Linked DNA regions of Homo sapiens: all the other regions are linked to region 1. The links are contacts of gene promoters, found by promoter capture Hi-C in blood cells and fetal thymus (Javierre and others, 2016). All regions are on one chromosome and are shown on one strand. Each heading gives the region's core, a stretch centred on a gene start or on the middle of the fragment in contact. The rest is flanking DNA. Distances are from core to core; before and after follow the strand shown. Region 1 holds the start of LINC02991 (long intergenic non-protein coding RNA 2991). Region 2 overlaps NDUFA10 (NADH:ubiquinone oxidoreductase subunit A10). Region 3 overlaps NDUFA10 (NADH:ubiquinone oxidoreductase subunit A10). Region 4 has its middle 53 kb from the start of MIR4786. Region 5 has its middle 94 kb from the start of MIR4786. Region 6 overlaps HDAC4 (histone deacetylase 4).

Region 1 (3,862 bases), core at 635-3,134:
AAGGGAGGGGACTTGGATTCCACCCCTTGGTGTGGGGAGTGCAGAAAGTTACTGAAAAAACAGGTGGAATAAAAAATACTGCTGTGGTTATTTTTGAAAATAGCTTCTGCCCTGTTTCCCCAGGTCACTCAGCCAGTGGCCATGAGCTGCCCTGGAGGGACATGAACTCCCAGGGACTTCAGCTGGGAAAAGTAGCTCTGGTGGTCCAAGGTCAGTGGTGTGGGGTATTCTCAGCAAAAGCACAGGGAAGTTGGGGAAGGGGCTCAGAACCCCTCACAGGGACCTGGGGGCTCTGGGCAGAGCACTGATGGCTTCTGCTACGGGGTAATCACACTCGATACAAATGGATCAGACAATTGTCCTGCCCCTTGTGTCTCATGATCACAAGCAGGAAGGGTGAACCCGGTGTCTCCGTGCTTCCGGGAAAGTTGGTGAAGGAAAATACAAACTCAAGAATGGCCAGAGCGTCATTTCTCAAAGGCAGCCAGCGCTACCCCATGTGTCTACTCCAAATCTTAGGTCTCTGACCTCCAAGTCCAAAGCTCAGCCGCCTGCCTTACATCATGCCACCCCTTGTCCATAACTTGACTTTGGTCCTGCAGGGGTTGGAAATGCACCATTTTGTGTACATGCTGGTCCTCATGCATGTAAAGTGAGGATGCCTGATTATCCACTGAATATCTTGTTTAAATAAAGTTTTGCTAATACCTATGTAGATATACTTCAAGATCTTTGTTGGGCCACTAAGATTGGTGTTTGGGTGTAGAGACTGGGGAAGCAACAGGAAAGATTTATTTTTAAGGATGAGCAAGGGATTCCTGGAAGGTCGCCTAAGAGAGCTCCAGATTGTCCTCCTTGAAGCTGCAGCAGGAAGCGGGTTTTATATGTTTGTTGTGTCTGCGTCATGGGATAGACTTTTCTACTGTAAAATGAGATTTTTTATGCTATGCTAAACACAGATGTTTTTCTCCTCCCGCCAACACTTCACAGGCATAGGGACCCCTCCCAATGTCACTGTGAGCTGTGAGCACTGAGATGGCTCCGAAGGCAGGAAGAGAGCTCGCTGGAAGTCCCAGGGGAGCAGGGAGAGAGCCAGGTGCCGCCCAGATGCTACACATGCCCTGTGGCTCTGCAGGGCGTTCTCTGGAAGAGTCAGGCCTCCTCCAGCTCCACCAGCATCATGGAGGCTGCTAAGCTGCCTCAGTTTCCCCAGTGCAGCTGTGACATGGGCCTGAAGGGACGTGGAGAGAGGCAGCTGATGTCTCCGCGCTGGCTGTGTCACTTGTGCTGGGTGGTGACCAGGGGCCACACCCCCATCCAGTCACATTAACTTACATGAAAACCTCCAGGTGATGCCTCCAGGGGCCACTAGGCTCCCTCAGGTCCCTGGACCAAGGCTGTGACCTACACAGATAGATTCTGCCAATTTCTCCTTGAGGGTCATGATGCTCTCCTCCTGGTCCATCTCAGAGTCTTCACTGGAGAAAGAAGTTTCCATCTACAAAGTGTGCTCCATGGAGACATGGCTCACCTCATTCCAGACTTCCATCTCCTTGGAAAAGTGACAAAGGATCTCAGAGGTAGGAGAAAGGCCCTGAAATCCCAGCACAGGCACTCGGGCTATGAAGGGTAGGAGGAGCGGAGCTGGGAGCCTGGGCTTTGAGGCCTTGCGAAATCCCCCTGTGCCACCGCCCAGCCAGACACACGAGCAACCCACCAAGGGGCGGGTGGATGCGGCCTTGGAATTCAGAGTTCCCGTTTGTAGAAACGAAATGTTTATTTCATGATGCAGTTGGGGGTAGAAAATGGGGATAAATCTCTAATTTCTCAGATTTCCAGAAATCGGGATTTTCCCTAAGTACCCCTGGCCTTGAGCTAAATCCCGTCACTGTCTTGGGCTGTGTGCTGACGGGAGCCAGGGCCTTGTAAGGCCCAGACCCTCCTCCTTCTCTCCCGTATTAGTCAAGGTTCTCCAGAGAAATGGAGTTAGAGATGCATTGCTATAAGAAATGGAATGGGCTCGCATGATTACAGAGGCTGAGGGGTCCTACACCCTGTCGTCTGCAAGCTGGAAAGGCAGGAGAGTCTGTGCTGCAGCCCTAGCCAGAGCCTGGAGGCCCGAGAACCAGGCACGCCGACGACAGCACACTTCCAGCCTGAGAGCAAGAGAAGGTCAGTGTTCCAGCTCCAGCAGGCAGGCAGAGGGAGGGTTCTCTCTCCACCTTTGTGTTCTACTCAGGTCTTCAATGGGTTGGATGAGGCCCATCCACATTGCGAGGGCGTCTGCTTCACTGAATCCACCATCGTACCTGCTTCTCTTGGATGCCGTCCGATTGCAGAGACGCTGTTCCCTTGAGGGTTCCTGCCCCACCGTGTGTGCTGGTGCTAGGATGTCTGCCCTGGTCCAGCCCTGCACCCCTGAGTCAGAGGCTCTTACTCTGGGTTCAATTAAGAAGGTTATTTGGCCCCCACACAAAGCTAAGACTTTCACCTTGGCATTTGTTAGGAGTAAGTAATAATTTGAGTTCTATGTGTTTTATTCTTTATCTCATGTCCAACTTGTTCTGAACCTGCATGGGGAAGAGGTGCTCTTAGTATTAAGCACTCTCAAAGGCCCTCAGTTCCTGGAGTGAGGAACTTTGAGAAATAAGAGGTGATGGGGTGAGGAGGGCAGAACACACAGTGAGAGGGCTTCACTGGGCGCGACGTGTGGCTTTGGGCCTTTCGGCTTAGATTCCAAACAGCACGTTTGACCTTGAGGTCTGCAATGGTTCTCCTGGGTGAGGCCTGGACCCCTGTGGCCCGGGCATGAGACCTTGAGCTCAGGCCATGCCATGCCTGACCTTGAACCTTGCTGATCAAGGCTTCGCCCACAGGCGAGGGGTATTCCAGGGAAGCAGGAAGTGTGCAGCAGGCACTGACCAAAGATGTGCCGCCCTCTGCAGAGGGACGAGGGGCCAGGCTGGGCCTTAAGGAAGCCCTGACGTATGCCTATCCTGGTGACCTTGCTCCGGTGGCCACCCTGTCAGGGCCCCTGCAGCCAGATGGAGCCCAGCAGTGCAGAGGCCTCTTTTCAGAGGCAGGTGTGTCTAAGGCTAGCATTTGGTTAAAGAGGATGAAGGCTCTGCTGTACAGGCCTTTTAAACCCTAGGTGGATGTATATTAGTCTGTTTTCACACTACTAATGAAAACATACCCAAGACTGGGTAATTTATAAAGGAAAGAGGTTTAATGGGCTCACATTACCACATGGCTGGGGAGGCCTCTCAATCATGGCAGAAAGTGAATGAGGAGCAGAGTCACGTCTTACATGGTGGCAGGCAAGAGCGTTTGTGGAGGGGAACTCCCCTTTATAAAACCATCAGATCTCAAGAAACTAACTCACGACCATGAGAACAGTATGGGGGAAAATGCCCCCATGATTCAATTATCTCCACCTGGCTCCGCCCTTGACATCTGGGGATTATTACAATTCAAGGTGAGATTTGGGTGGGGACACAGCCAAACCCTATCAGTGGAGAAAGGCCTATTTGCTGCTTTTACTAAAGTTCCTCCTTTAGGTCTGTGGGCAGAGGTTTCACCCTGAGGCAGCTGCTCTTGTGTGCCTTAGAGAACCAGGAAGGTGCAGGACGCAGGTGGCCGTGTCAGGACAGGAGGCAGAGCAGACCAGCTGCCCTGCACTGCTCTCTGCACTCCAGCCTGGGAGGGCTGTGCACAGGGGGACTTCAATGTCTGTGCTTTGTCTCCCAGTTCTGGGTAATGCCCAGAGCGCAACTCCCAAGTTTGTTCTGGACTTGTTCATTGCAGAAGCTCCAAGCAGAGTCTGAATCTGTGTATTTTAGAGATCTAAAAAGTGGCTTCC
Region 2 (3,862 bases), core at 1,003-3,502, 400 kb after region 1:
TACTTGTCATTGCAATTGCAAAATTTAATTAAATGTTATGAAAACTACGCGTCTGAAAAGGAAGAGCTGCTGTTCTGTTAAAACTAGGCTGAAACACTTTGGAACCATTTGATGAAGGTGAGTCGCTAAAATAAGGTCTATTGAAATAGGTGTGGGCGAACCACCTGTAGGTGATTTGGGGAAGAATTCTGTCTTCCCACCGTTTGTATGCTTTTTAGAAACCTAAAAAAGGAGTTTCTGCTTATAAAAGAACTTGAGCTCTAATAAAAAAGTATCTTAAAAGACATGGAGCTCTTTTCATGTGAAAGTTAGAATAACGGCTTTGTTTCAATATATAAGCTCCAAACAGATTTCAGAAATTAGCTCAGACACAGGGTGGGCGAGCCTCCCCAGCGTCACACCACTCCCTGAGAAGTGTGCTCCTGTGTAACCCTTTCTGGGCTCATCCATCCATCAGTAAATTAAATTAAACATAAGGGTCAGGAAAAGATCCATGAGGAAGTATGCCTGGGATTCCTAAATTAAAGCCTTTACACCAAAGTTCCTTTGTTACAAACGGCAAATTCCTATCTTAGAACCCCACCCCACAGCCCACCCCACCCAGCTGCCACTACCTGTCTCTATTGTGCTTTATAGTTAGACCCCAGTGCTGGCTGAACTGGCTCCACCCCTCTCCTCCAGTCACACACACAACTCTGCAGGAGAGGCAACACAGCAGAGGCCCAGGGCTCCACCGTCCGGTGAGGAAAGGCCACCACCAGGCCCTCAGCAGCCCGCTCCCCACCCTGCACCTCTTCCCTGACTCCCTCTGCTGGAATCCTTCAGCAATAGTCTGCTTAATTTTGAAAACCTAAAAAGCAAGAAGCAACTTGGCTGGGCAAGGAGGGGCAACAATGCCCCTGTTAAGTGGGGGCTCTCGGGAAAAGAGACAGTGCCTACTCTCAGCGCCCCCGCCCATAGCACCAGCACTCTCACCTGCACCACCAGGACCCTCCCTGACCGCCTTGGCCCTCTGCCTTTGCCCCCACAGTTGATACTCGACGTGGCAAGCAGAGCAACCCTTTAAACCTGAGACCCAGATGATGCCACTCTCTGGCGCACCAACGCCACCACCTCACCAGGAGTACCGCTGAACTGAGGTCCCCGTGGCAGCTGCGGACCCCGGCTGACCTTGGCCTGCTGCCTTTTCAGCTCACTCCCTGCTCAAGCTCACCCCACCCGCATCACACCTCACCATGACGGGCTCTTCTCTAGCTCCAGACCATGTCCACCTGTTCCTGCCTTCCGGGGGGTGCCTGCTCCCCTACACCCCCACATCCCTCACTCCCCTGTGGCGCCTGCTCCCCTACACCCCCACATCCCTCAGTCCCCTGCGTCAGGTGCCTGAGACCTCTCTCCACATGGCAGCCTCCTCGCTGTGCTTTCTCCAAGACCCTGGCACCCTGTTACCTGTCTATCATCTGTTCTCCCTGCCCACTAGGAGGTGAGCTGCATGAGGGCAGGGCTTGGCTTCACTCTCGGGTGTGGCCCCAATGCTTACAACAGTGCCTGGCACGATAAAGATCTAATCAGGGCTAAGTGCAGAAGTGGTAGGACACTGGGATGACACTGTCGGGCAGGGGGTCTGAAATGTCAGGCTTGGCAGCAGGTATTGGGATAAACTGTCATTCCTACTACCTTAGCACTCCCAAGATGCCTGACTCTATCTCTGGGATAGAACTCAGATTAAATTAAAAGGCAAGAATTCTTTGATCAGCCAGGTTTCCCTTCTGTGCCTTCGGGGTTGGGGATTTAATCAATTCTGCATTCTGGGGGACTGTTCATTGGGTAAATACCTATTGAGTATATAAAATGTAGACTTTCTAATTCAGACAGGTCCTCCACAGAATGGCTACAGAAAGAACCAGCACCAAAACAGGGTTTCCAGTTATAAAGAAAAATAGGGGAGCCTTCCATTTCTAGCAAAACAGCAGCCCTAATATGCAGAAAAGCTTCTTGATATAAAAACCTCTGGAAATGCTTCTACATGTACAGCTGAGCTCCGCAAGAAATCACAAAGGGCTAAGAAGGAAGAGTGAGTGGAAAAGCCAGAGTGGTGAGCTGAAGCCGCGGTGCCCTCGGGACGCCCAAGAGCTGCAGAGAGCCACAAGACACGGCCTGGTGTCCCTGTGAGGTGACTCCTGAAGGGCCACACCTCAGTGCGGGGAGAAGGCCTCCTGCCAGCAAGGAGACCCCAGCTGGCACCCAGTGGTGAAACCATTCTCCACTGGGAATTCGTAACCAGAGCTTCTCTCCACACAGGTTCGAGGGTTGAAATTTGCATTACCTCCAGGGCCTGGAATACCACAAGCAACAAAGGTGCCATCAATCCCTCCCTGCTCCTCAGGAATCTGAGGCCTGGCAGCAGCAAAGGGTCCTTTCAGGAGTAGGGCTGCCAGGACTGAGAAATCATATAGGATACCCGGTTAAAAACCTTGGGACATACTTATACTAAAATACTAGCTGCTCTCAGTTCAAGCTTACCTTGGCATCCTGTACTTCATCTGGCAACCTGACTCAGGAGGGACCCACTCTCACCAAATGCCCATGGATGGAGCCCCACAGGGCAGAAGCTCTGTACCCAAAGTCTCCAACACAGTCAAGAAAAGAAGCCACCATGGGTGAGAAAAAGAAGAAACAACGAACAAGATCAGACAGCGTCCAGAGCAGCGCTCCAGAGACAGAGCATAAAATAACTAGGTTTAAAATGTCTACAGAGAGAAGCAATGGGGGAATTACCAACAAGGAATAAGATCCTACCAACAAGATGCAAATAGCACTGGCATAAAGAAAAATTCAAATCTAGACCCATCTCACAAAACTACAAAAACACTAAAGTCAGAAAAATCAGGAAAATCCTGGAAGAAAAACGAAGACTATAATCCTTAATCTAAAGAATAAAGGTCAAAGCATTACTCGTTTTCCAAGAATCAGAAGTGCTACCTAATAACTCCTAACCTCCAGGTATCAACAAGGACAATACCCATCATAAAACATGCATGCAACGTCCTGGGCATGTTACAATACACAGACCACCTATTTACAGAAGCACAGTGCAAGTATATTTTAAGTTTCTCATGAAATTATAAGGCATAGTTTTAGTAATTTTATTATTTTTAGAAAATTAATTGGGATTATAGAAATTCTCATGTTAATGGCAGAATTTGGCTAAAACACATATTTTCAACATTAAAAAAAAAAAAGTCTCCCAGAAAGCGAGAAATTGCCTAGCAGGGTAATGGGCTTCTAAGAACCACTGCCATGAAAAGGCATCCATGGCCTCCACTTGCTCCAGGAAATAACCGGCTGCCAACTACCTTCTGCTCTAATAGTCACACGTTCTGTGGAATGTCCTCAAATGCTGTTTGCTCCCCTGCAGCAAACCAGTGACCTGACACGTGTACCTGAAGACCGATGAGAAGGTCTTCCCACCTCCAAAGACCAGTGAGAAGCACTTCAGGACCCTCTCTTGTACTCTGCACAGCCCGCTGCGGGTAGGGGATCCCCAGCTACAAGGTTAGACGAAACAATTCTGTTCACCTCGCCTCTGACAAAGGCCGACTTTACTTTTCTTTAGTTACTTGTCTTTTGCAATTTTCATAAAGCAAAACCTGAACTCTTTTCTAAAAAGATTCTTGTCTTGATTGTATTTACTGTTTCTTCTAACGTGTAATTATAGAAAACAGCATTTAATTTTGTTAGCAATTCAAACATCACAATAATTCTTGCTAAACCTCAGAACCTCTAACTGTGACCCAACTAAAAACAACTTCAACTGTCTTTGCCTGGTGGCCTCTGCGAGTTGAGGTGTCAGAGACTGATG
Region 3 (3,862 bases), core at 1-2,500, 380 kb after region 1:
GAAACCACAGGGGCTGCCGAGAGCTGGCCTTTCACAGCAGACCACTGTTTTCCAGTGAGAATGGTGGGCCATTCCAAAACAAAGCTAAAGGGTTCCAAACATCCAGAATGGAAGCTGCTTCCCCCAACTCCATTACCTATACTACAGGATGGATTGCTTTTTGTGAGACCCCTTCTTCCACTGTGCAATTTTTGCATTATTTACCCTCCCCCGATCTTAAAGCTATATGGCGTCCAGGAGAGTGCGGCTGATGCAGCTTGGCCATCACTGTGATGCAGCTGGAGCAGAAGGCGGCCCGTTCACTTCAGCCAGATCCACTTGTCTCCCACCTCGGTGTTGTACCCAGGGCTGTACTTGCGGCCCGGCAGCTGTGGGGGAAAAAGGCATTGGTGCATTCTGTTTAACGTGAATGAATGTTTCCCCAGCTCATAGTTCAATGTCTACCCGGCAGATGCCTGTACTTCATGAGTTCCTTCAGCAATGCTGGTGAGCACATGATCTGTGGCAGGTGTCTCCTGTGAGTGCAAGGATGCCACAGGTACACAAACCACAACCCAGCCCTGCCTGCCAGAAGCTTCTGTCCTAGGGCTGGGAGCCACAAATGGAAACGAACTACTGAGTGTTCTCATTAATGTCAGGAGGGTGACAAGAGCCACAGGAGGGGGACAGAGAGCAATGGGTGGCACTTAGGGGAGGCCCTGAGCAGGGACAGCCACGCAGACACAGGGGTGGGGCTGGGACCCAGGAACCACAGTTCACCAACTGAAACACCGAGTTCTCTCTGAAAAAGCCCCGCGTGAAATTCCCTCTGAAGAGGGCCTGCAGAGGCCGGGCCGCTGGCTGTAAGGGGCCCTTGGCGGAGTAGGAAAGTGAGTTTCATCCAGGCCTTTTAAGTAGACATGGGCAGGGTTCAGGAAAACCAGCAAAGGAGGGGGAAGCACTGCAGGACTGACCCTAGCGGGAGCCACTGAACATCCAGGAGCGACAGGACGACAGAGCCCAGGAGGAGCGGATGCTGCCAGAGAGGCCAGTGGGGGGCTGAGCTTGGCAGTGATGGAGCTGCAGAAAGGATGTTACAGGCCCCACTTCTCCCACCATCTGGGAGAGATCAGGGGCTCAGGTGGCGGTCCACAGAGGCCAACCTCACAGGGCACAGGGAGATCTGGGGGGCAACAAGAGCCCCTGCCAGCACAAAGACGCCTGTTCATGAGGGTAGGCGGCCAGCACAGGGCTGGCTGAGACGGAAAGAGGAGTGTTGCTCCGCAGGACCACCTCGTTGCGGAGCCAGGAGAAAGCGCTCAGCACGGTGTGTGTCGCCCAGCGATGGCAGGTGGGAAAATGATGAGTTTTTTCATATTTTCAAATCAGCATGGGCACACAGTCAATTTGTGTACACACACACACACACACACACACACACACCCCTTCCAAATTCTGCCCTTAAGAACAGGTACTAAAACCATTTTTAAAAGAATCAGCTTTTCCTTTATCCTAATCAGCAGCAGGCATTCACAGCCATCCACACAGCCATGGCTGCCTGGATCACAAATCACTGAAATGTGCCTTGCCTGGCCTCTGCCACAGTGGCCACGCAGTGACAGACGAACACACAATGCATCCTATGAAGCAGCAGACAGGTCGCCCCAAGACCAGCCATCTCACACACAGGACAGGCAAAGCTCTAGGATCTTCAAGGCCCAGGAGCCACCCTTCCTCCTCCCCAGAAAGCCTCTCCTCTCCTAGGTGCACAGCTGTGAAGTGGGACCTGGAAGTGGAGGGGCCGGTGCTCTGTTAGTTCATTCTTGCACTGCTATAAAGACATACCCGGGGCTGAGAAATGCAGAGAGAAAAGAGGTCTAATTGGCTCATGGTTCTGCAGGCTGTGTGGGAAGCATGGTGCCAGCATCTGCTTCTGGGAAGGCCTCAGGAAGCTTCCAATCATAGTGGAAAGCAAAGCAGGGGCAGGTACGCCACATAGTGGGAGTAGGAGCAAGAGCAAGAGCATGAGGCGGGTAGGGGGTGGGAGCTGCCATATACTTTAAAATGAGAGGTCGACGCGCACTCTGTGAGAACATACTAATTACCTCCAGGAGGGCACCAAGCCATTCATGAAGGATCTACTCCCATGACCTAAACACCACCCACCAGACCCCACCTCCAACAGGGGATCAGATTTCTACATGAGATCTGGAGGGACAGACATCCTAACTACATCAATGCCCATCTAAAGGCGGGGGGGAGGGTGGCACAGCCAGCCTCCAGCTTTCTGGCCCAGGATACAGTGTGGATACAGACGGTTTTGTTTGGGTGCCAGGAGAATTCTGGGACACACACAAAAAAAGAAAAACCCAGCTCCTTCAGGAGTTTGAAATCTGAAGAGAGACTGAGATGAAAGCCCAGGTCATTCAGCCAGTGATGCCAAGACAGCCCAGGGGGTTTGGTATTGTGGGATCCCAGGAGGGGGCGCAGGCAGCTAGTCTGGCAGAGTCCAGGGAGGCGTCAGGAGAGTGAGGGACCCTCCAGGGCCAGGGGGATCCCCCAACACTGCTGCTCGAACTACAGGTGTCTACAAGTGGCAGGAAGACCGCAAGAGAGGGACGTGACTTTCTGGCTTCACAGTCTGACAAGACCTTTGGCCTAAGTTGTGACCTGTGTCAGACGGGCTGTAGGTGCTATTTCTAGACCGGGGAGCAGTGACGGGCACCTGGGGCTGGCCTCAAAGGGCCTGACGGGGTCAGGAAGGCCTGGGTGAGAGAGAGAAAGAGCTGGTCAGCCCCAGGGAAGGTAAGTGTCCGGTCTGCTTATAGAATATGTGCAGGGTGTGGGGGCTACATGGCGGGTTGCCCCATAGAGATGACCCGTGGGCAGTTGGAAACCTGCGTCTGTGGCTTAGAAGACAGGGCTGTGCAGCCACCTCCCAGTAACTGAGGGAGGCAGCGCCATGTGAGCCGACCATCCAGGGTGCTGGACAAGAGAAGAGGCCAAAGAGCAGCACTGCATGGCTGAGGCCTGAGGCTGCAGAGGGACTGAGGAGTGAGGCACACAGGCCACCGGAGGAGCTGGGTGTGACCACGCGTGACATACGGGGCCTCGCGTCACGGTCACCAGATGGCCACTAGCTCTGCACGAAGACAGGAGGAGCGGGGTGGGAAAAGACCACACTAGCGGGGAAGCAGTCAGCAGCTGAGGAAGGGGACACAACACCTGGGCCACCTTTCACACGCCAGGTAATGGCACGTATGTCTATGCCTGCACGCCCATGCATGTGCAGGGGGCTGGTAGGCGGGGTCTCTGCATCAAGAAGTGGTGGAGATCTCTATCTCAAGATGCCCAGCCTCCAGAACCTGTGAACACATGAGCTCACCTGGCAAAAGGGCCTCTGCAGCAGGAGACTGGGAGATCATCTGGGTTATCTGGGTGGGCCCCAGGCCATCACTAGGGTCCTCAGAAATCAGAGAAGGAGATGTGACAATGGAAGCAACAGCCACAGTAATGTGGGGCCAGGTGCTGAGGAATGTGGGCGGCCTCTAGAAGCTGGAAAGGGAAAGGACACCAATCTCCCCTTGAGCCCCCGGAAGGAGCCAGCCCCGCCTGCACCGTGATTTTAGAACCTCTGCCTCCAGAACTTTAGGAGGATGCATGTGTATTGTTTTAAGCTGCTAGAGAGTGGTAGCTGGCAGCAGCAGCAGCAGACGACTCCTGCCGGGTGTCTGCTTTTTATGATGGGAGATACCGGGTCACATCTGTACACCAGGAAGAAAAAAACTGTGCAGGGGAACAGGTCGAGGATGCAGGAGAGTGTGGGTCAACCCCAAGAACACAAACCCGGAGGGAGGGGCAGGCCAGAGAGCTGTGAAAGCAG
Region 4 (3,862 bases), core at 841-3,340, 310 kb after region 1:
GAGCCCTCATGCCTGTAATCCCAGCACTTTGGGAGGCTGAGGCGGGCAGATCACCTGAGATCAGGAGTTCGAGACTAGCCTGACCAATGTGGTGAAACCCCATCTCTACTAAAAATACAAAATGAGCTGGGTGTGGTGACACATGCCTGTAATCCCAGCTACTCAAGAGGCTGAGGCAGAAGAATCGCTTGAACCCAGAAGGTGGAGGTTGCAGTGAGCCAAGATCACACCACTGCACTCCAGCCTGGGTGACAAGAGTGAAACTCTGACTCAAAAAAAAAAAAGAGTTAGCCTAATGAGCACAGCAACACATCAATGGGAAAATAACTTATGCCTGAAAAAAATTTAAAAAGCTTATCGAGATTCCTACAATGAAACAGAGGAGAATGGAAAGTAACCGTAGAAACATGAGATTAGCCTGGGTAGCAAACAATAATACCCATCAGGTGCTGAGCATTGGCTGTAATTTGGTCTGGAATTCTGATAACCCTAGCAAAGATCAAAACATGCCCAGCTCCATCTCACCCAAAGGCTGGATGATCCTGGCTTCACAGGACACCCATTTAAAAGACAGCCCATTCACCCACCCACTGGATGGCTGGAATCTCAGTAATGTCTGACCTGGCCTCACACTGGACGTGTCTGCCTGGCCCTGAACGCCTGCTGGAAGGATCCCAACCCTGACTCCTGCCTTGTCTCACCTTCCTTAGGGTCAGAATCCTGCGCCTCAAACACTGAAAGTATAGCTTTCTCCGGTGGACTCTGGCAGGACAAATCAGAGCCCCTACCCCTCGCACCATTAGCAGCCTCTGGCAGAAATCCCCCGGTCCCACTCCATCCCCACAGTGACCCATAAGGGCTCCTTCCCCAAGCAGGAGTGGGAAATGGCAGGATTTGGGCACCCACCCTTCTCAGTAAGGGCTTGATCAGATGCACCTCACACACTTGCTTAGATAACTTGCAGAATTTCTGCAGCTTGTCTTGAGTTTATTTTGGCTCAAATCATTATATTAACTTGCAAATAATAGCAATGGAGAACACAGGCTTGGGCTGGGGCCAGCTCCCCACTGATGTCCCCACAGTGGACACAGGAAAAACAAGCCTTCATCTCTCCCAGGTCAAAAACATTAAAGCATGAGCAGATGGAATCCTAATAGGAGTTGTCAATCTGAGCCTTTGGGGATTTGCTGATGGTGACATCCCAAGGTCAGGGGCAGGAACCAGGGTCCAGGAGAAGCTGTCCGTCCTGTGTTCCAAGCCAGCACGGGCTCTGCTGAAGCAGATGGGAGGGCAAGACGGCTGCAGTCACAGCTGCCCTGGGCCTGGCTGCCCTCTCCAATGTGCTAGCCAACAGGGAGCGGGCGGCGCAGACAGCCTGGAGAGAGTGGGGCCGCAGCTTCCCATTCGGAATACGAAAGGAAAGGCCTGATGCAGCTGCCTTCAGATGGATAGAGGCCAAAAAGATGGTCTTAGGACATAAAGCAAGACAAGTCACTTCCAATCGGGGTCATTCAACAGCCATGTCTACAAGAATTAATTTGTGAATTAAACAAACGTTACTGTTAGAAAAATGAACTGGAAGAGAATGTTACATTTGCATAAGAAGAATGGAAGAAAGGGGCACTTCTGTGGAAGATGGAGGATTTGACACTGAGAACTAGCATGCGCCTTGTGATTTCAGTGAATCATGGTAAAAAGGAGATGTTGGAATTCACTGAGAATGATGACAAGGCTGCGGAAAAAGATGATAAGCTGACACCCGGGCAGCTGAAATACAGTCAGTGGGCGAGCAGGATCACAGCTCTGATTTGGAGGAACAAGCGGATGTTGCATTACTTCTAAAACCACCTAGTGTTTAACAGCCATGCCGAACCCCACTGCATTTAAATAAAGCAGAGGGATGAAGCCATAGCAGAACTTTGGGGTATCCCTGCTCCTCTCTTGCTCCTGGTGCTCACAAGCAAACAGGTGGCTTGGCAAATGTGTTTGTTTAGGACACCTGGCCTCCTCTGTAGCCCACTGCGACGCCTACGGTCTCTGTTGACTCAAGGTGTCTCTCTAGGTCAGAGCTTTTAGACTCCAGAGTTGATCTGGAACACCTCAGAGTGGAGAAGTTTTGCTGAGTTCTCATTTAACATTTTAAAAAAGCAGTAACACATGTTTGATTGTTGCTTATAAGATAAATACACAATTTTTTTTTTTTTTTGAGACGGAGTCTAGTTCTGTCACCCAGGCTGGAGTGCAGCGGTGCGATCTCGGCTCACTGCAAGCTCCACCTCCCGCGTTCATGCCATTCTCCTGCCTCAGCCTCCTGAGTAGCTGGGACCACAGGCACCTGCCACCACGCCTGGCTAATTTTTTGTATTTTTAGTAGAGTTCCTGGCCAGGCATGGTGGCTCATGCCTGTAATCCCAGCACTTTGAGAGGCCAAGGCAGGTGGATCACCTGAGGTCAGGAGTTTGAGATCGGCCTGGCCAACGTGGTGAAATCCCATCTCTACTAAAAATACAAAAATTAACCAGGCGTGGTGGTGGGTGCCTGTAATCCCAGCTACTGGGGAGACTGAGGCAGGAGAATTGCTTGAACCCGGGAGGCGGAGGTTGCCGTGAGTCGAGATCCCGCCATTGCACTCCAGCCTGAATGAGTGAAACTGTCTCAAAAGAAAAAAAAAAAAAAGATATTCCTGATCCATCACAATGTGTGGCCCCACAGTCAGCCCTCACATGAAGAAACTGATCAAAACAGGGTCCTTGGCTTAGGGTCCAGGACCCCCTTGCAATGATACACAAATATTAGTGTTGGAATACAGCATTTCTTAGTACCATCTCCGCAGGAAGCATAACTTCAGTTATTATTCAACATTCTCAATGGCCTCTGTGTACCTGAAAAACAAAGTTTGGCCAGGACAAAACTACATGCACCATATCTTGTACTAAGTTCTTCACTGTCCAGGTTGAATATTACAGGTTAAGACACAGACATTTCAGAGTAAAGCTGACCCACAGAAGTACAGTCCTGTGCTGCAGGATGACATTTTAGGCAACGAGAACCACATATACGGTGGCAGTTCCATATAAGATTGTCATATTACATTTTTACTACACCTTTTCTATGTTGAGATATGTTTAGATACACAAATACTTAGCATTGTGTCACAGTTGCCTGCAGTATTCAGCACAGTCACATGCTGTACAGGTCTGCAGCTTAGGAGCAATAGGCTCCATCCAGCATGCAGCCTTGGTGTGTAATAGGCTATACCACCTAGGGGAGCTGCAGGCACACTCTATGATGTTTGTATAATTATGAAATTGCCTAACAATGCATTTTGCAGAACATATTCTTGTCATTAAGTGATGCATGACTATAGTTTTCTCATTCACAGTCCTTCCTGTGTGCTCCAGCACTAAGCATCAATGCCTTCCGAACAAGGCTGGACCGGTTCAGACACCAGCAGGACCTAGTGGCCCAGGATGGATGTCAGATGGTCAGGTGAGTGAAAGGATAAGCAGGGAGAATTTCTAGATGGTCTCTAGAAATTCTGCTAAAATTGCTGTGGCTCAGATACGTGACAGCATGGCTGTAGTCCCGTCATCGATTTTTCTCTCTGTAAATTCTTCGAATGTCTGGATTCCTTCACAGGATGATGCTTCCCCAGTGCCCAGGGTGCATGGCCTGAGTCATCCCTGCTAAGTTCTGCTAACGACCACCTTTCTCTAACAGTACCTGAAATCAACATTTTATAGAGTGCTGGGTTTGTGAGTAAGTTGGTAGCTAGAAGGAAGAAAACAATTCTTATGTTTTTGTTTTTAAAACATACCCAAGTCGCCTGAAGCTTTAATGCTGTAAGATGACGTATGGGTGA
Region 5 (3,862 bases), core at 799-3,298, 270 kb after region 1:
AGCCCTGCTCACCCACTACCTGGAAACGAACTTGGTGCTGTTGGAGGGGTGGGCACAGTGGAAGTGAGACCAGCCTTTTGGGCTGTGTGGGAGCTGGGTGAGGCCTATAACTGCCGGCTTCCCCCCACTTCCCTGAAAACCCACATGACACAGCAGCAGCAGCCGTAATCCTCCTGAGAACATAACTCCATTGACCTGGGAACCACACCCCCATCCCCCACAGCAGCCTCAGCAAGCCCCACCCAAGGAGATTCTGAGCTCAGACATTCCTAATCCTGCCCCCACCTGATGGTCCTTCCCTGCCCACTCTGGTAGCTGAAGACAAAGGGCATATTCTCTTGGGAGTTCTAGGGCTTGTCCACTGCCTGATCCATACTACCACAGCTGATGCTCTCTTGAAATTGCCACCTCCTGGCAGGAAACCAACCGCAAAAAAATCGTGCATTAAATAACCAAAACTAAGGACAGAGTCCATTTCACTCCCCTGCCACCTCTACCGGAGCAGGTTCAGGTATCCATGGCTGAGAGATATAAAGATAGTTCATATCACAGGACTCTGTGCAGACAACCCCCGGTACCAGCTTGGAGCCTGGTGGCCCTGCGGGGTGGCTAGATCCAGAAGAGAGATAACAATCACTACAGCTTGTCTCTCAGGAAGCCACATCCCTAGGAAAAAGGGGGAGAGCACTACATCAAGGAAACACCCCATGGGACAAAAGAATCTGAACAGCAGCCTTGGCCGGGTGGGGTGGCTCATGCCTGTAATCCCAGCACTTGGGGAGGCCAAGGAGGGTGGATCATGAGGTCAGGAGATCGAGACCATCCTGGCTAACACAGTGAAACCCTGTCTCTACTAAAAATACAAAAAATTAGCCGAGCGCAGTGGTGGGTACCTGTAGTCCCAGCTACTTGGGAGGCCGAGGGAGGAGAATGGCATGGACCCAGGAGGTGGAGCTTGCAATGAGCTGAGATCATGCCACTGCACTCCAGCCTGGACAACAGAGCGAGGCTCCATCAAAAAAAAAAAAAAAAAGAGAATCTGAACTGCAGCCTTCTGGAGCTCCAGATCCTCCCTGTGACATAGCCTATCCAAATGAGAAGGAACCAGAAAAACACTTCTGGTAATATGACAAAACAAGGTCTTTAACACCCCCCAAAAAATCACACTAGCTCACCAGCAATGGATCCAAACCAAGAAGAAATCCCTGATTTACCTGAAAAAGAATTGAGAAGGTTGATTGTTAAGCTAATGAGGAGACATGAGAGAAAGGAGAAGTCCAATTTAAGGGGAAAAAAATGATACAAGAAATGAGGGGAGAAGTATTCAGAGAAATAGACAGCATAAATAAAAAACAGTCACAACTTCAGGAAATAAAGGACACAGAGAAATGCAAAACTCTCTGCAAAGTCTCAGCCATCGAATCGAACAAGCAGAAGAAAGAACTTCAGAGCTCAAATACAAGGTTTTAAAATTCACCCAATCCAACAAGGATAAAGAAAAAAGAATTTAAAAAATGAACAAAGCCTTGAAGAAGTTTAGGATTATGTTAAATGACCAAACCCAAGAATAATTGGTGTTCCTGAGGAAAAAGAGAAATCTAAAAGTTTGGAAAACATATTTGGAGAAATAATCAAGGAAAACTTCCCAGTCTTGCTAGAGACCAAGACATCCAAATACAAGAAGCTCAAAAAACACCTGGGAGATTCATCACAAAAAGATCATTGCCTAGGTACATTGTCAACAGATTATCTATAGTCAAGATGAAGGAAAGAATCTTAAGAGCTGGGAGGCAAAAACACCAGGTAACCTATAAAGGAAAACCTATCAGATTAACAGCAGATTTATCAGCAGAAATCCTACAAGCTAGAAGGGATTGGGGCCTTATATTCAACCTCCTTAAACAAAACAATTATCAGCCAAGAATTTTGTAGCCAGAGAAACAAAGCTTCATAGATGAAGGAAAGATAGGGTCTTTTTCAGATAAACAAATGCTAAGAGAATTCGCCCCTAACAAGCTAGCACTACAAGAACTGCTAAAAGGAGCTCTAAATCTTGAATCAAATCCTGGAAACACATGAAGACAGAACCTCTTTAAAGCATGACTCTCACAGGACATATAAAATACAGAAAACAAACAAACAAACAAAACCTAAGCTTTACAGGCAACAAATAGCACAATGAATGAAATAATACATCTCAATACTAATGTTGAATGTAAATGGCCTAAATGCACCAGAATCTACAAGGAACTCAAACAAATTAGAAAAAAGAAAACATCAAAAATGGGCTAAGAGCATGAATAGACAATTCCCAAAAGGATATATACAAATGGCCAACAAACATATGAAAAAATGCTCAACATCACTAATGATCAGAAAAATGCAAATTAAAACCACAATGTGATACCACCTTACTTCTGCAAGAACACCCATAATAAAAAAATAACAGATGTTGGTGTGAATGTAGTGAAAAGAAAACACTTCTACACTGCTGGTTGGAATGTAAACAAGTACAACTACTATGGAAAACAATGTTGAGATTCCCTAAAGAACTAAAAGTAGACCTACCATTTGATCCAGCCATTCCACTACTATCTACCTAGAAGAAAAGAAGTCATTATAAGAAAAAGATACATGCACATGCATGTTTATAGCAGCACAATTTGCAATTGCAAAAAATGTGGAACCACCCCAAATGCCCATCAATCAATGAGTGGATAAAGAAACTGTGGTGGTACATATACACAATGGAATACTACTCAGCCATAGAAAGAAATGAATTAATGGCATTTGCAGCAATCTTGATGGGACTGGAGACTATTATTCTTTTTTTTGAGACAGAGTTTCACTCTTGTTGCCCAGGCTGGAGTGTAATGGTACGATCTTGACTCACTACAACCTTTACCTCCTAGGTTCAAGCAATTCTCCTGCCTCAGCCTCCCAAGTAGTGAGGATTACAGGCATGCACCACCATACCTGGCTAATTTTGTATTTTCAGTAGAGACAGGGTTTCACCATATTGGCCAGGTTGGTCTCGAACTCCTGACCTTAGGTGATCCATCCACCTTGGCCTCCCAAAATGCTTGGATTACAGGCACAAGCCACCACACCCAGCCCAGGAGACTATTATTCTAAGTGAAGTGAATCAGGAACAGAAAGCCAAGCATCATATGTTCTCACTCATAAGTGGGAGCTAAACCATGAGGATGCAAAGACATAAGAATGATACAGTGGGCTTTAGGGACTAAGGGGAAAAGGATGGGAAGGGGGTGAGGGATACATGACTACAAATTTGGTTCATGGTATCACTCAGGTGATAGGTGCACCACAATCTCACAAATCACCACTAAAGAACTTACTCATGTAAGTAAACACCATCTGTTCCCAAAAAAACCTATGGAAATAAAAAAAATTAAAAAAAAACTTTATAATGGCACCCAGCGCATTATAGCACTGGGGTATTCTGAGTATGATTATGAATGTATTTATAGCAGTGAGTTATATGCTTTCATATTTTTTCATAATGGTAATTATCACTTTTGTTTCCAGTTGTAGCACTGTCTTAAGCATTTCTTGTAAGACCAGTCTAGCGGTAATAAATTCTCTCAGCTTTTGCTTGTCTAAGGTCTTTACATCTCCTGCATTTCTAAAGGATAGCTTTGCTGGATATAGTAATTTCGTCTGACAGGCTTTTTTTTTTTCTTTCAGCACTATGAATATCTCATTCTCTCCTGCCCTGAAAGGTTTCTGCTGAGAAATCTCTTAATAATCTAAAGAGGATTCCCTTATATGTGACTTGATGCTTTTCTCTTGTTGCTTTTAGAATTCTCTCTTTGTCTTTAAAGAGTTTGATTATAATATG
Region 6 (3,862 bases), core at 478-2,977, 260 kb before region 1:
GAACTGCTTGAGCCCACGAGGTGGAGGCTGTAGTGAGCTGTGATTCTACCACTACCCTGTACAGTATACCAATGGGCCCTAGGTAAGAGAGCGGCTGGATGAATTGCAGAGTGTATGGCTGTCCACAGGAATGAGCAGGAGCCTGTGGACAGACGTGGCGTGGTTTCCAGGACATACTGCTAGGGAAGAGGAGTTCCCTGTAGGACATTCTTTCCGTGCAAGAAAGTGGGCAAATGAAAGCACACAAGGCCACCCAGGAAAGAAAGGGTAGCTCATGGGGACAGGGTGGAAAGGACAGGGGACAGCAGGGGTAGGGGACCCGCTTCTCTGAGTCTGGCTGCTACACAGTTCTGGCTTTTGAAGCTGCAATTGGGTTTCACATCATCAAAAAGTGAAAATTAATACAATCAAAAAGTACACAGGGGGAAAAATTCTAAACTGAAATACAAACAGAAACAAATAACCAAACCCCATTTCAGATGAGTAACAACCACGCTGGGGCAGGGTGGGGTGTGCGTAAGAGCTTGCCAAAGTGGCTTTTAGACCCGGTATCTGGACCATACGCCTTCAGCGACTGCTGGACTCTAGTTGGGGGTTTCTTTTTCACAGAGGCATAGGTTAATAATCTCTGAGTATTCTGGGATTGAGACTGAACAAATAAGTAAGTACATGATGGATTCTGAGAGCTCCACGTCTCCTTGTCAGCAGAGGGAGTAACAAATGTGAAAGGAGAAGGCCAGCCGGTGGCCTTTGTGAGGCTGGGCTGGAAGTGAACTGCCATGTGTGTGGGTGGGGCCGGCGTGTGTGGGTGCAGGGGCCGATCTACACACATCTATTCACAGCTCTGGCGGCCGAGAGCTGGTTTCTAAATAGCATTCCCCGAGAAAGGAACCAGGCCGCCTTGAGAAAAAGCTGATTCCAGGCCAGGACAGGGTAAGTACAGGCGAGATTAGGACATTTTGTGTATCCAAGAGAGTAAAGAAGGGTCCCAAAACGGGAGGGACCTGCCAGAAACGCCAGCATGAAGGGGCTCTCATTGGCCAAACTGGAACAATTTGGGCAGCAGAATAGATATTGATAATAAAAGGTTATAACCCAGTTAATAAATTAGGAATCTATGAGTTCAAACTAATATAAGTAAACAATAAGGAAACACATAAATAAGGAGGAAAGGAAAGCTCTTTACAGGAGAAAGTTAACTACAGGAGTCCACATTTCACGTTGTCCACAGGTTCTTGGAAACCGCAACTTTAAGCCAACGACAGAGGGTCCTCAAGCAATGCCAGTCGTTTGACTATAACACTGGTGCACTGGTGAGAAAAATAACCTTGGTTTTATTCTGTATTATTTCACTTAAAAGTCAGTTTCCAAGAACCTCCTGAGGTTAATGAGGGCTTCCCGTCCTGAATGTAGCAAGAACGGTGACACTAGATGACCATTTCACTTAAAAGTCAGTTTCCAAGAACCTCCTGAGGTTAATGAGGGCTTCCCGTCCTGAATGTAGCAAGAACGGTGACACTAGATGACCAGTAGCCACCACCACGACAACAACAGACTCCGACAAAGAACCATCAATGATGCTGAGACTTGTGGGTCAGTGCTCGGGGAGTAGCAGGCTGTCTGCACAGTCCCAGATTATCTCCCTACCAGATACCTGCTAATTATGCAGGAAACAATGTAACTTCACAGTGGAAACACCCGCCAGCATCACCTTCACTGAGAGCTTCCGGGCAGCATCAGCAGCAACGAAATACTGCGGTGGCCGCCAAGCCCAGCGGCATCACTGGAATCCAATCACGAGGAAACATGCCGAAATCCCAAGCTGAAAAACATTTTACAAAATAGCTGCCCCTACGCTTCCAAAATGTGAATGTCACGAAACATAAAAATGACGAGGAGACTGTCCCGGAGCAAAGGGGACTGGGGAGGACGTGAGAATTGAAGGCCCTGCAGGGCCTGTCATCTGCTGTTGATAACGAGACATCACTAGACTATCAGCGAAACATAAACAAGGCCTACAGATGAGAGAACAATGCCTGCTCGCTGTTATTTTCCAACTCTACTCACTGACCGTAGTTGAAGAGTGACCACGCTTATCTGAGGCAACATGGCCTGGATTATTAGTTGGGGGAAGGCATCACATCTAACACTAACTTTCAAACGATTCTGAAAAAAAAAAAAAGGATGCATATCAATAAACAGTAATTCTTTGGACTATTTTTTGCTGATTTTCTGTAAGTTTGAAATTACAGCAAAATTAAAAGTTAAAAAGAAAAAAGTTAAGGAATAAAATTCCCCATTATTATTGGAAGACACTAATCTTCAGATTCAGGAAGTCCAAAAAAATATCAACAGGGGTAAGTGAAAACGCTTACAAAAATGTAGAACACTAAGACTACAAAACACCTAGAGAGACACAACGGATTCCTGCCAAGGAACGGAACAGCCCCAGTGGAACTGAGTGAACCAATCACATCCTCAGAGCCCTGGGGAAGAGCAGCTGCCTCCCCAGCACTGTCTTCTGTGAGGGATCATTCAACAATGAAGGAAAAGGAGGCAACTCTCAGACGAACAAAAAACGGAACTTCTGCAGGAATTTCTAAAGGATATTACTTCCAAAGGATATTACTTCCAGAAGAAAAGTAAGAGCAAAAAACCAGAATATCTGATATTCAACAAGAAACAGCAAGCAAGTAATATCCACATATAGGAAACTTTAAGGAGCAGTGGCCATAGGAAGCTGTGACAATGAAGGCAGCACACGGCCGCAGCCTCCCGTTAGCTGCTGGAAGGAAGCCACACACACCCAGATATTTCAATTCTGCAAATGATTAAGAAAACGAAACCAACAACAAACATAAAAATGGGTGACCCATGTCAGAAGACACTGACAGCCACAGCAGGCTGGCGGTCAGGCACAGGCCAGGCGAGGGCCACCTCCCGGGACCGAGCAAGGCGCCCTGGTCAGCCTGAAGACACTGGCACTAGGTCTAAGACGGTGTGGCCGTGCTGGAGGTCACGCAGAGTTAAAAGTAGCTTACCCGTGACCCGGCACTCCCATTCCCAGGCAGGAACCTGGCAAAGACCCAAGTTTGCGTGTGTCAGAAAACACACAAAAGAATGTCCACAACATCATGTTTGAGAGCAGCCACATCTGAACATGAATCAAAGTTGTGAAAATTCACAAAATTGAATGCAAGACACTAATGAACACCAGTCACCGACAGCTACAGGCAGAAACCTGGTTCTCAAAAACAGTCCTGCCTGAAAAAGAACCCACGAAATAGAAAACGTATAGTATAATTCTATTTACATGAAGTTCAAAAACATAAAACTAAAATCATATTGTTTAGGAACATGTGCATGTATGATAAAACTTTTTTTTGGAAACAGCAGAATGAAAAGCAAACATGTAAATGTCCTTGTAGTGGTCTCTGTCTCACAGAGCACACGGTCACTGCTATTGTATTGCTTTAAATGATGCAGATAATGTCTATGAATTGTTTAATTCTTTAATTAGAGATTTATAATTAAAATTTAAAATAAATGCGTGTGGAGGGGATAAAAACAGAATGACTAAGCGGGCTGAGAAAGTGATAAATCACCTGTAATCCCAGCACTTTGGGAGGCCGAAGCAGGCGGATCACCTGAGGTCAGAAGTTCAAGACCAGCCTGGCCAACATGGTGAAACCCCGTCTCTACTTAAAATACAAAAGTTAGCTGGCGTGGTGGGAGGCGCCTGTAATCCCAGCTACTCGGGAGGGTGAGGCAGGAGAATTGCTTGAACCTGGGAGGCGGAGGGTGCAGTGAGTCGAGATCGCACCATTGCACTCCAGCCTGGGGAACAAGAGTGAGACTTCAT

Evidence for each region. Contacts are between HindIII fragments. The CHiCAGO score rates a contact against its expected background, and 5 or more counts as called.
Region 2: a fragment that was not itself captured here is called in contact with the fragment with the promoter of LINC02991 in region 1 in 2 of 17 cell types (M0 macrophages and neutrophils); the score reaches 7.9 in M0 macrophages.
Region 3: a fragment that was not itself captured here is called in contact with the fragment with the promoter of LINC02991 in region 1 in 1 of 17 cell types (M0 macrophages); the score reaches 6.4 in M0 macrophages.
Region 4: a fragment that was not itself captured here is called in contact with the fragment with the promoter of LINC02991 in region 1 in 4 of 17 cell types (M0 macrophages, M2 macrophages, M1 macrophages and 1 more); the score reaches 8.0 in M0 macrophages.
Region 5: a fragment that was not itself captured here is called in contact with the fragment with the promoter of LINC02991 in region 1 in 3 of 17 cell types (M0 macrophages, M2 macrophages and fetal thymus); the score reaches 6.9 in M0 macrophages.
Region 6: a contact is called between a fragment that was not itself captured here and the fragment with the promoter of LINC02991 in region 1, in 1 of 17 cell types (neutrophils). The highest score is 6.2, in neutrophils.

What each region holds. Positions count from the first base shown.
Region 1 is chr2:239,576,417-239,580,278 of GRCh38, forward strand. LINC02991 (long intergenic non-protein coding RNA 2991) reads left to right here and starts at 1,885. Exons shown (of 2, transcript NR_172921.1): 1 at 1,885-2,508. The HindIII fragment of the contact is 7,503 bases long and covers 1-3,862 here.
Region 2 is chr2:239,978,672-239,982,533 of GRCh38, forward strand. The region is part of intron 9 of NDUFA10 (NADH:ubiquinone oxidoreductase subunit A10); the gene reads right to left. Among named protein-coding and RNA genes, the nearest start is that of MIR4786, 38 kb to the left of the region's middle. The HindIII fragment of the contact is 527 bases long and covers 1,990-2,516 here.
Region 3 is chr2:239,960,819-239,964,680 of GRCh38, forward strand. It overlaps NDUFA10 (NADH:ubiquinone oxidoreductase subunit A10), which reads right to left. Exons shown (of 10, transcript NM_004544.4): 10 at 1-368. The coding sequence ends at 300. Among named protein-coding and RNA genes, the nearest start is that of MIR4786, 20 kb to the left of the region's middle. The HindIII fragment of the contact is 1,357 bases long and covers 573-1,929 here.
Region 4 is chr2:239,888,645-239,892,506 of GRCh38, forward strand. It overlaps a transcript of NDUFA10 not described here. Among named protein-coding and RNA genes, the nearest start is that of MIR4786, 53 kb to the right of the region's middle. The HindIII fragment of the contact is 3,479 bases long and covers 352-3,830 here.
Region 5 is chr2:239,846,894-239,850,755 of GRCh38, forward strand. No RefSeq gene overlaps it. Among named protein-coding and RNA genes, the nearest start is that of MIR4786, 94 kb to the right of the region's middle. The HindIII fragment of the contact is 209 bases long and covers 1,945-2,153 here.
Region 6 is chr2:239,316,518-239,320,379 of GRCh38, forward strand. The region is part of intron 2 of HDAC4 (histone deacetylase 4); the gene reads right to left. Among named protein-coding and RNA genes, the nearest start is that of MIR4269, 13 kb to the left of the region's middle. The HindIII fragment of the contact is 5,835 bases long and covers 1-3,862 here.